2 separate regions of the Homo sapiens genome follow, and region 2 is linked to region 1. Evidence: promoter capture Hi-C in 16 types of primary human blood cells and fetal thymus (Javierre and others, 2016). All regions are on one chromosome and are shown on one strand. Each heading gives the region's core, a stretch centred on a gene start or on the middle of the fragment in contact. The rest is flanking DNA. Distances are from core to core; before and after follow the strand shown.

Region 1 (6,099 bases), core at 1,151-3,650:
GATCAGAGGTTAAAGAGAATTCCTCGTGTAACCCTGACACGTTGCACTTGCTGCTCGGTAGATTGAAGTGTTACAGCTGTTGTTCCTAACAACCTCCCACAGCGGGAGAATGCAGCGTGGACTAAGGCACCTGATGGAAGAGAGCCATGAAAACAATTCTGTGCGAGTGCTTCAGTGCAGTTCAACAAATATTAAAATCGAGCTTCCAGTATGTGCCAAGTATTATGCTAGATGCTGGAAACACAAGAAAAAAGAACCTGCCCCCTCTATGCCCTTAAAGATTAATGCTTCTTAAATACAGGAAAGAGAAATATTTAGTTGTGATGATACAAATTAAATTATAGGGAAGTACTGCAGTGGTACAGTGGTTGCCTCACAAATCCTGGAGAAACTATCAAACTAGGCCATCAATCCTTACGGGGAAATCTGAAAACAGGTTTGTTAATATGTATAATAAATTTGTCTCTTGGACATAAAGAAGATGGTGCCAAACACTGCACTGCAACCACTAAGTAGCTTGGACTCTGTAAGTGTAATAAAGGTGAATTACTTTGGTTAAAGTGATTGCATGTTAATTTAAGAAATTATCTTCCTCCAAAAGAGGTGCTCATTTTATTTTCCTTTTCTGAGTTATTCAGGTCTACATTCTTTTCTTCTGCCATGTTCAGTGGTTAGCATGAACAAGCAACATGATCATTTAATATTCAACTAAATGAGATGTTAATTTTCATTGCAAGATTAGAGCTGAGAGCATTTACACAGAATTGCAGAAACTGAAGATGCCTGGAAAAATTCCTGAGGATTGTTCAGTACTCAGTATAGCGGTTAAGAACGTTTGCTCTGGAGTCTTAAGGAGAACCCTAGCACTCCCCAACATTACTACCTCTATTGTGTTACTGGGAGAATTAAATGAGCAACTGTGTTATGGGCCTATCAGTGTTAGGCACATAAAAAGTGTTCCCCAACTGCTAGCTCCTGCTATTAGTATAAGAAAAACAGGGGCCCCACTGGCCCCAAAGAGTGGGCTACTCTACGATTGTTCTCTGGAGACACCATCGGCAGGCCTGTTTCTAAGTGAAAGCTGGCGTGCAAACTGAAGAAAAGTGGCAGAGATAGATGCGCTCTTTCTTCTGTCGTTTCAATTGGCATCTGGTGAACTATGCCTAACAGCTTAACGCCCAACTGAAAAAAACTGTAAACTAGGATGGTAAGGAAGAGATGGGGTTTGAGCAGTGACTACAACTCTTCTTCTGAGTGTGTGGGTTCAAAAAACACTCCCTCCCACACTTAGCTTTAGGCAAGCCACTTTACCGTTTTAATCTCCGCTTTCCTCATATGGAAAATGGGATAACAAAAGTGTGTAATTGGATTGTTTGTACCTCAATGGATAAATGCTGGGATGGACGCCCCGTTCTCCATCACGTGCTTATTTCACACTGCGTGCCTGTATCCAAACATCTCATGTACCCCACAAATATATACACCTACCATGTACCCTCAAACATTAATTTTTAAAAAGTTACTGTCTCCTGGAGTTACGGTGCGGAGCGCACAGCTCCCGCTACGCCGCAAAACAACTACCACCTGCAGCAGCCGGCCCTCCACGCTGGCCATGAAAGGCGCTGGGCTAGACAGCCTGCGACGGGGCGGCTTCTCGGGCTATGCCACTTACTGCGGGACACACTGGCTCACCCGGGTCTGCCTCGGAGGAATGCAGTGAGGATTAAACTAGCTAATCCACGGAAAGCGCTTAAAACGGTGCCTGGCTCGTCCCTGGCCCCCACGCGCCTCGGGGCTGATATTCAACTGCGCATTAGCAAGGCCGTGGGCCCCGTGCCGAGGCTTCCTGCGGGCGGGATCCGCGGGCACGGCCGGCCCAGCCGCCAGGTGAGCCTGAGCCCTTCCCGGCACCTGCATCCTCCGCCGCCACAAAAAGCAACTTTTTAACAGTTTCGCAGCGGGGGCCTCCCGGGCCAGGCCGCCGCCCGCCCGCGGGGCGCCCCCGCCCTCACCTTGCTGGAGGTCCTGGTGGTCGTACCACGGCTCGTCCTCCTTCATCTCAAACTCCTCTACCAGGTTTTCCGCCAGCATCTCGGCTGGGTCTTCTAGGGGCAGCGGCCCCCGCCGCCGTCCCGCCTCAGCCGCTGCCCCGGGCTCTTCCCCGGCCCCTCCGCCCTCAGCCAGAGCCGCCCTCGGGCGGGACGCGCCGCCGCCCAGACTCCGCTGCGCCGCCTCAGCCCCGTTCCCGCCGGCGGCCGCCGACCGGCCGGCTGCCTCGACTCGCCTCGCGCCTACCGACGGCCCCAACGGCCGGGCATTACGGTGCGAACGCCTGGAGCCGGAGTCTCACGCAGCCGCCAGTCTTCACGCCGCCGCCGGGCCCAACGTGGCACTTTGGCAGAACCCTCCCCGGCCGGGGATGCGATTCAAACCCCCGGCGGCGCCTCAACCAATCGCGAGCGGGCTGCTGGCCGAGCGGCAGGGACTTCGTCCAATCGCCTCTCTCCAAAGACCGGCGGCTCGCCCGGTATCGAGGGCAAGCAGCCAATGGTGGGTCCGGAATAAACAAAGAAGGCGGGGAAAGAGTGAAGGGGTGCGGCCGAAAGCCCGTCCCCTGATCTGCGCTGTGAGGCTCCTAGGAGGGCGTTCTGGGTTTCGGGCTGGGGAGCTGGCAGAGGCGCGTCTTACCCCTGTGGTGGGTGTCCCGAGGCCGGCGCGTCTGTGGACAGGCAACGCAGGCCGGAGGGCCTAGGACTCCGGCCTCTGAGAGGCGGGCGGTTGTCCAGGGGAGTCCTTCGTGCCGGCGGGAAGCGCAAGGGTGCCGGAAGCCTGAGGTCCGCCGCCCGGCCACCCCTTCTCGCATCTTGACTCTGAGATTTGCTCCGGGTCCGGCGGGGAGACTCGAGGTCGATCGGGAGTTTGGGTTGAGAAAACGCCCACTGAGCGGTAGCTCTTGTCTCCTTGACATCTGAGCCCTGGGAATTAAACTCACGCTACATAAAACGGTGGGCACCAGACCCCCTTGAGAATCTGGGGCGGTGAGGGATGCCCGAAGCTGTCCACTTGGAGGGCGAAAATTGTAAGCAGTGTTGCAACGATTTTTAAAAGGTACCCCTAGACCACAAGTTAAGCATCTGGGGACGTGACATTGCACCTGGAGGGGACAGGCTGCAGCTCCAGCACTTAGTAGCCAGCGAGGCAGAGCACGCTGTCCTCCACCGACATAACCCAGCAAATACTGCTCCTAGGTAAAGCTTTAAGCACCATCTTGCAGACAAAGCACGGAAACTCTTAAGCAGGATGACAGACCTGAAGGTCAATGTTCTCAACCTTGACGTAAAGGTAAAGGTGCAGCTGATGGAAGACAACAGGGCCAATATCTAACTAACTTTGAGCAACGAAACAAAAAAAAATCGAGGTTTAAGTATACAATTGAAAGATTATCTCTAGAACATGAGGTAATAAACTGTTAGAAATTCAGAGAGAGGGAAGAGGTGGAGAGGAGTGTTAAATCCTGATCTATTTTAGAAGTGAGTCGACAGATAATACCTTACATTGATAATCCAATGAATAGTTTCCACAAATATGGAGAGAGCTGCCAGAACTAAAAATGGGAAGCAATTAAGAGTTTTCCGAGGCTGGACACGGTGGCTCACGCCTGTAATCCCAGCATTTTGGGAGGCCGAGGCGGGCGGATCACCTGAGGTCGAGAGTTCGAGGCCAGCCTGACCAACATGGAGAAACCCCATCTCTACTAAAAATACAAAATTAGCTGGGCGTGGTGGCGCATGCCTGTAATCCCAACTACTTGGAAGGCTGAGGCAGGAGAATTGCTTGAAACCCGGGAGGTGGAAGTTGCAGTGAGCCGAGATTGCGCCATTGCACTCCAGCCTGGGCAAAAACTGCGTCTCAAAAACCAAACAAAAAAAAAAAGTTTTCCTAAGAGGAGGAGTGATTTGAGGCTGGGGACTTTGGCTTTTTGTTATAAACCCTTCTGTGATCTTGCTTTTTTAGTTACTTGCACATTAAAAATAAGGGAAATTGTAGGGAAGGAATTATAGACTCAAGCTACTTTTTTTGTCTTTCTGTATAAAAAAAGACTTGGGTAATTTGGAAGGGGGGAAAAACTCATCCTGAATAATTCTTGTGGGTAATAAAATTCAGGGTGTCTCTCTGCCTCCCATCTTTGCTCAAACCAGCATAACCTAACCTCACGCTGATGCTGTATCAAACAGCACTTGACTCCAGGGTTACCTTACACATAGGCTGTAGGCTACTCTGGAGAAGTCTTGCCAAGGACAAGACCTCCCACTGTGGAGTTGTTACCTGAAGTTTTACCCTTCAGTCCTTAAAGGAGACTGCTGAATAGAGTGGAAAGCACAAGGGACCTAGAGTGAGAAAACCTAGAGTTCTCGCCATACTCAGTACCAGCAGAGAAGCCTTTTAGCAAACAGTTTACAGGAAAGATGATTGTTTGCCTTGCTCACAGAGCTATCTGAATCAGAGAGACCCTGAAAGCAAGTATTTTGTGCTCATTTTAAATGTAAGGCTGTGTTCTTGTGACCTATACTGTAGAAGTGCAGGTACCCTTGAGGACCAATTATGAGCATCACAATAAATAATCATAGTAATGGATTATAACCCATTGAATAAAAAGGAAAGAATCCATGAGTCCATACTGACATAAATAAATGGGAGAGAAAAGAAAACTTTCTTACAGTAGGATGCCAAGCAAAAAATGTAGAAGGAATAACACTGTTAGAAAGTAATAATAATAATAAAAGAGGAATGGTAAACTCACAAATCCCTTTCTTCAAAAAGGCAAAATGTTACTGGCACACCTGTAGTCCCAGCTACTTGGGGGGCTGAGGTGAGAGAATTGCTTGAGTCCAGGAGTTTGAGGTTACGATGAGCTATGATAGGTGACAGCAGAGCAAGACCCTGTCTCAAAAAAAAAAAAAAAAAAAAAAAAAAAAAAGGCTGTGTACAGTGGCTCATGCCGTAATCCCAGCTCTTTGGGAGGCTGAGGCAGGCAGATCACCTGAGGTTGGGAGTTCAAGACCAGCCTGGCCAATAAGGTGGCCCATCTCTACTAAAAATACAAAAATTAGCCGGGAGTGGTGGTGCAAGCCTGTAATCCCAGCTACATGGGAGGCCAAGACACAAGAATCCTTTGAACCTTGGAGGCAGAGGTTGCAGTGATCCGAGACCGTGACACTGTACTCCAGCCTGGGCAATAGAGTGAGACTCTGTCTCAAAAAAAAAAAAAAAAAAAGAAAGAAAGAAAAGAAAGTGAGGTCCTGTAAAGCCTCTTCTACTGCCCTAGTTGTCCATCGAGATATTCAGAGTTGAAATAAGATCACTTCAAACAAACTATCTTAATCACTAAAGATAGAACCCTTTGGAAAGATAGCAAGTTGGATTTAGGAATAATTGGCAATGGTGATTTGTGGAAGCTAAAGGGCTAGAATCATGCAGGGGCATTTTTTTTTTTTTTTTTTTTGAGAGAGTCTCACGCTTGTCACCCAGGCTGGAGTGCGATGGCGTGATCTTGGCTCACTGCAACCTCCGCCTCCTGGGTTCAAGTGATTCTCCTGCCTCAGCCTCCCAAGTAGCTGGGATTAAAGGCGCCCACCACCACGCCTGGCTAATTTTTGAATTTTTAATAGAGATGGGGTTTCAGCATGTTGGCCAGGCTGGACTTGAACTCCTGACCTCAGGCAATCCACCAGCCTCAGCCTCCCAAAGTGCTAGGATTACAGGTGTGAGCCACCGTGCACGGCCCCCTTCACGATTCTTATCACTGATTCGCAAGGTTCAAAGTGCCCGCTGTTTGCTCCATCGAAAACAGAAGCTCATTTTGACTTCAAATGCATATTGAAATGTTCTTTAACAATTCTCCATTTTTTTTTTCTTTTTCAGAGTCTCACCATGTGGCCCAGGCTGGAGTGCAGTGACACCATCTCTGCTCACTGTCACCTCCACCTCCCTGGTTCAAGTGATTCTCGTGCCTCAGCCTCCTGAGTAGCTGGAATTACAGGCATGTGCCACCATATTCGGCTAGTTTTTGTGTTTCAAGTAGAGTCAGGGTTTAGCCAT
Region 2 (6,122 bases), core at 1,762-4,261, 410 kb before region 1:
AGTAAGTCCATAATAAGTTATGCAGCTAGGCGGGGTGCAGTGGCTCACGCCTGTAATTCCAACACTTTGGGAGACCAAGGTGGGCAGATCACTTAAGATCAGGAGTTCAAGACCAGCTTGGCCAACACAGTGAAACCCCATCTCTACTAAAAAATACAAAACAAAAACTAGCTGGACATGGTGGCACGCACCTGTAATTCCAGCTATTTGGGAGGCTAAGGCAGGAGAATGGCTTGAACCCAGGAGGTAGAGGTTGCAGTGAGCTGAGATTGCGCCACTGCACTCCAGCCTGAGCGACAGAGAGACACTCTGTCTCAAAAAAAAAAAAAAAATGTTATGCAGGTAAATCCTCCCATGGAGGTGGTTATTGCTCCTTCCACCCCCGAACACCCTCTGTCGCTTGGGTACCCTAAGATACCATGCTTTTATATAAAGCACTGTTCTTGTGAGAAATACGTGTAACCTGTGTTTTTTATGTTTAGAGATTTTATTCCCTCAAAGTTGCCCCCAAAGTTAAAGCCACAGCTGCGCCTGCAGGAGCACCGCCACAACCTCAGGACCTTGAGGTTAGTCCCACTAACTTGCTCGCTGGAAGCTATACATGCCTTACTCTCCTTGGTAATACGAAGACATTCATTATATCTCTACTTTATTTTAAATACAGTTTACCAAGTTACCAAATGGCTTGGTGATTGCTTCTTTGGAAAACTATTCTCCTGTATCAAGAATTGGTTTGTTCATTAAAGCAGGCAGTAGATATGAGGACTTCAGCAATTTAGGAACCACCCATTTGCTGCGTCTTACATCCAGTCTGGTGAGTATCTTCACTTCCTCAAGTGTTTGGAAATGCTGTGGTATCTTGGTCCTGTGAAAAAGAAAAACTAAGATCAATGTCTTTATATTTTGATTCCTTGACCTGCCATAACAAATTACCACGGACTGGGTAGCTTAAACCAAATAAGTTTATCCTGTTACAGTTCTAGAGGCTAGAAGTCCAAGTCAAGGTGTCTAAGCCAAGCCAAGATATCAGCAGGGCTGTGATCCCTCTAAAGGTTCTAGGAAGGCACAAATCCTCCCCTGCCTGTTCCTAGCTTCCAGCAGTTGCCCACAACCCTTCATGTTCCTTGACCTGCAACTGCATCACTGCAGTCTCTGCCTTTGTTGTCACATGGCCTTCCTTCTGTCTGTGTCCACATTTCCTCCTGATAAGGATACCAGTTACATTAGATTTAGTGCCCACTATAATTCAATATGATGTCATCTTAAGTACTTAAATCTGCAGAGACCTTATTACCAAATAAAGTAACATGCAAATATTCTGGCTGGACATAAATTTGGGGGGGAACACTGTTAAACCCAGTACTGTCCCCTAATGTAAAATGAGAAACCACAAGATATTTGCCACAGAGAAGCACTAAATTAGTATCCATATGAATGTTGATGTTAGAGCATAAGAAATCAGTAAACAAATTTTTAACAGGAAGTGCCGCAAATTGAAAGAAAATTAACTCTTTTTTTCCCATATACAAGTCTCTTTCAGAATAGACTAATGAATCCAGTAAGCTTGTATTTGACAGTGGAAATTTTACATGAATGTACTTAATGTAAAAATGTATACTTAAGCTTTTTGTTGAGCCTTGTTTTATAATTCTTAACTAAAAAGGATGCAGGAATTTAGTAAAATTCTTTTTAAATCTGCTCACAACAGATTTTGATATAGTGTGATGTTTGGCAAACTTGGCATTGAAAAGCTACAAAGATAATCATTCTTTCTTTTTCAAGACGACAAAAGGAGCTTCATCTTTCAAGATAACCCGTGGAATTGAAGCAGTTGGTGGCAAATTAAGGTTTGTTAAATAAGTAATAGAAAATAGTGAAAATGCCAGAAAATATTCAATTTTAAGGGAACTTTTCTCTGTTATCAAGGAGGTTGAGGATTTCTTAAGCAACATAAGAAGGAAAAGACTGATGAATTTGAGTATATCAAACTGTAAAACATCTTTATGTCTTAAAGTAAAAATTTAAGTAACTGTCTGGGAGTAGATATCTGCAATATATAGGCATACCTCAGAGATGTTGCAGGTTCTGTTCCAGACCACCACAATGAAGGGAATATTGCAGCAAAGCAAGTCATAGGAATTTTGTGGTTTCCCAGTGCATATAAAAGTTATGTTTACACTATACTGTGGTCTACTAAGTGTACAATGACATTTTGTCTTGGAAAAAAAGTACATAACCTTAATTTTAAAATATTTTATTGCTTTAAAAATGTTAACAGTTATCTGAATCTTCAGCAAGTCATAATCTTTGCTGGTGGAGGGTCTTGCCTCCACGTTAATGGCTGATGACTGATCAAGGTGGTGGTTGCTGAAGGTGGTGGTGACTGATAATTTCTTAAAATCAGACAACAGTGAAGTTTGCTGCATTGATTGACTCTTCCTTTTGTGAAAGACTTCTCTGTAGCATGAGATGTTGTTTTTAGCCGTTTACCCACAGAACTTCTTTCAAAATTAGTCAGTCATCTCAAACCTTACCACTTTTTTATCAACCAAGATTATGTAATATTCTTTTTTATCATTTCGACAGTGTTCACAGCATCTTCAACCAGGAGCAGATTCTATCTCAAGAAACCACTTTGTTTGCTCATCCATAAGAAGCATCTCCTCATCTGTTCAAGCTTTATCATAAGATTGCAGCCATTCAGTCACATCTTCAGGCCCCACTTCTAGTTCTCTTGCTACTCCCACCATAGTTGCAGTTTCTTCCCCCTCTGAAGTCTTGCCTCTCAGAGTCATCCATAAGGGTTGGAATTGGCTTCTTCCAAACTCACGTTAATGTTGATACTTTGACATCCTCCCATGAGTCACAAATGTTCTTAATGGTGTCTAGAATGGTGAATTCTTTCCAGAAAGTTTTTTAATTTACTTTGCCCAGATCCATCAGCGTCTTCACTATCTGTGGTAGCTGTAGCCTTACAAAATGTATTTCTTAAATAATAAGACTTGAAAATAAAAATTACTCCTTGATCCATGGGGTGCAGAAGGGATGTTCTATTAGCAGGCATGAAAACAGTGTCAATCTCCTTGTACATCTGCATCAGAGCTCTTGGCATTGTTGCAGTAATAATTTGAAAGGAATCTTTTTTCTGAGCAATGGGCTTAAAATATTCAGTCAACCATGCTATAAACAGATGTACTATCATCCAGGCTTTTTTGTTCATTTACAGAGCATAGGCAGAGTAGATTTAGCATAATTCCTAAGGGCTCTAGGATTTTGAGAATGGTAAATGACCTCATCCTAAAGTCACCAGCTGCATTAGTCCCCAACAAGAGTCAGCTTGTCGTTTGAAGCTTTGACGCCAGGCATTGACTTCTCTAGCTACGAATGTCCTGGACGGCATCTTCCAATGTAAGGCTGTTTTGTCAGCATTGAAAATCTGTGGTTTAGTGTAGCCACCTTCATCGATGATCTTATGTAGATCTTCTGGATAACGTGCTGCAGCTTCTATATTAGCATTTGCTGCTTCACTGTGTACTATTATATTAAGAAGATGGCTTCTTTCCTTAAAGCTCATGAACTAACCACGGCTAGCTTCAGACTTTTCTTCTGCATCTCACCTCTCTCAGCCTTCATATAATTGAAGAGAGTTAGGGCATTGCTCTGGATTAAGCTTTGACTTAAGGGAATACAGTTTGATCTAATCCAGACCAGTAAAACTCTGTATTATCAGCAATAAGTCTGTCTTGCTTTCATATCATTTATGTGTTCAGTGGAGTAGCACTATTAGTTTTCTTCAAGAACTGCACTGGTGCAAGAGGCCTAGCTTTTGACCTGTATCCGTTTTTAACATGCCTTCCTGACTTCCTTAGAAGCTTAATCCTTTCTAGCTTCTGATTTAAAGTGAGAGACATGAGACTCTTCCTTTCACTTGTATACTTAGGGGCCATTGTCGGGTTATTCATTAGCTTAATTTCAATATTGTTGTGTCTCAGGAGTAGGAATATCCAAAGAGAGGGAGAAAGACTTGGGGAGCAGCTGGTCAGTGGAACACTCAGGACAGAAACAGCATTTCTTTTTTTTTAATTAATTTATATTAAAGACAGGGTCTTGCTCTGTTTCCCAGGCTGGAGTGGAGTGGTGCAGACATACCTTATTGCAGCCTTGAACTCCTGGGCCCAAGCGATTCTTCTCCCTCCGCTTCCCAAGTAGCTAGGACTATAGGCACATGACTCCATGCCTGGCTAATTTTTTATTTTTTGTACAAATGGAGGTCTCACTATGTTGCCCAGACTGGTCTTGAACTCCTGGCCTCAGGTGATCCTCTCACCTCAGCCCAGCATGCTGGGATTGCAGATGTGAGCCACTGCACCCAGCCCAGATTTTTTATATATTGTGTTGTCAGTGGTAAAGATGATAGAGAATGTCTCATTCTGCTGATAGGAGTATAAATTGATACAACCACTTAGGAAAGAATCAAGGAATATCTGGTAATATTGAAAAACCCCACAGTTTTTAATCACATTCACAAAGGTATTCTTTATAAAGACTGGAAACGATCTAAGTGTCCATCTTTAGGGAAATGGGTAAAGTATGACAGAGTCATGATGAGACCACTATACAGCCATTACGGAATGAACTAGATCCATACGTCAACATAGCACAACTGAAGGGCAAAATAGAGTGTGAACAAGCAAGTTTCAAGATTTCTTTAAGGTATTTTAATTTTTTAAGCAGAAAAATACTATGTAGTGCTTATGATTGTGGTTTCCAGAGTGGGAGAGAGTGAGGGAATTGGTCTTGGAAGGGTACGAAAAGATCTTCAACTTTATTTGCCATTTTAAAAAATTGTGGTCAAATGTATATAACATAAAATTTATATATATATATATATATATATATATATATATATATATATATTTTAGACAGTCTCGCTGTGTCGCCCAGGCTGGAGTGCAGTGGCATGATCTTGGCTCACTGTAACCTCCGCCTCTTGGGTTCAAGCGATTCTCCTGCCTCAGCCTCCGTGGTAGCTGGGATTACAGGCGTGCGCCACCATGCTTGGCTAATTTTTGTATTTTCAGTAGAGACCATGGTTTCACCCTGTTGGCCAGGCTGGTCTCAAACTCCTGACCTCAAGTGATCCGCCCACCTCGGCCTCCCAAAGTGCTGGGATTACAGGTGTGAGCCACTGCGCCCGGCCCAAATTTATCATTTTCTTAAGTGTGCAGTTAAGTGGCATTCAGCAACCATCACCAACATTCAGCTCCGGAACTTTTCTATCTTCTCCCACCTGAAATTCTGTACCTGTTAAACAATGGCTGCTCATTCTCCCCTCCCCTCAGCCTTTGGCAACTGCCATTCTCTTTTCAGTCTCTACAAATTTGACTACTCCAGGTACCTCATAAGTAGAATCATACAATATTTGTCCCTTTGTGACTGGCTTATTATCCTTAGCATAATGTCCTCAGGGTTCATCTGTGTTGTAACATGTGACCAGATTTCACTCCTTTTAAGGTTGAATTATTTGCTGGTTTTTAAAAAAATTTTGAATTTTAGTTGGTTAATATGTGGAGTTTTGTTATATTATTGTTCGCACCTTTTATACTTCAGAAATTTTCTTTCCAAAGGAATTGGTTGATAGAAGATTATAAGGGAAAGCTTACTATCCTGATTCAGATGATTTACTCTAGTTTATTTTCCGATTCAGTGTGACCGCAACAAGGGAAAACATGGCTTATACTGTGGAATGCCTGCGGGGTGATGTGTAAGTACCTGTGTGTGTTTAGGACTTCTGCTTTGAAAGAAATACTAAGCTGCTCACTTCTGGTCTTTGTAATGCGTCATTATGACCTCTGACTTCCATTTTGGATTATTGTTCATAAACTGCTCAAAAACACTGCTTACCACAAGACCTAAAGTTTCACATTGAGAGCATTACAGCTATGTAGAATCTCAAATGTTGGCTTTACATTTTTGACTCATAATTCTTATCTCGATGTCTTCTGTAGTGATATTCTAATGGAGTTCCTGCTCAATGTCACCACAGCACCAGAATTTCGTCGTTGGGAAGTAGCTGACCTTCAGCCTCAGCTAAAGATTGACAAAGCTGTGGCCTTTCAGAA

Evidence for each region. The method cuts DNA at HindIII sites, captures the fragments that hold promoters and counts their contacts. A CHiCAGO score of 5 or more calls a contact.
Region 2: a contact is called between a fragment that was not itself captured here and the fragment with the promoter of CDR2 in region 1, in 1 of 17 cell types (non-activated CD4 T cells). The highest score is 5.8, in non-activated CD4 T cells.

The regions. Positions count from the first base shown.
Region 1 is chr16:22,372,219-22,378,317 of GRCh38, forward strand. CDR2 (cerebellar degeneration related protein 2) reads right to left here and starts at 2,401. Exons shown (of 5, transcript NM_001802.2): 1 at 2,013-2,401. The coding sequence starts at 2,091. It overlaps CDR2-DT (CDR2 divergent transcript), which reads left to right and starts at 2,669. Exons shown (of 3, transcript NR_148970.1): 1 at 2,669-3,005; 2 at 3,109-3,342; 3 at 5,923-5,962. RefSeq lists a silencer at 1,934-2,163 and enhancers at 2,704-2,783, 3,124-3,173. The HindIII fragment of the contact is 4,746 bases long and covers 1-3,252 here.
Region 2 is chr16:21,956,753-21,962,874 of GRCh38, forward strand. It overlaps UQCRC2 (ubiquinol-cytochrome c reductase core protein 2), which reads left to right. Exons shown (of 14, transcript NM_003366.4): 2 at 483-566; 3 at 665-814; 4 at 1,783-1,847; 5 at 5,708-5,764; 6 at 6,009-6,122. It also overlaps a transcript of PDZD9 not described here. Among named protein-coding and RNA genes, the nearest start is that of UQCRC2, 6.5 kb to the left of the region's middle. The HindIII fragment of the contact is 673 bases long and covers 2,676-3,348 here.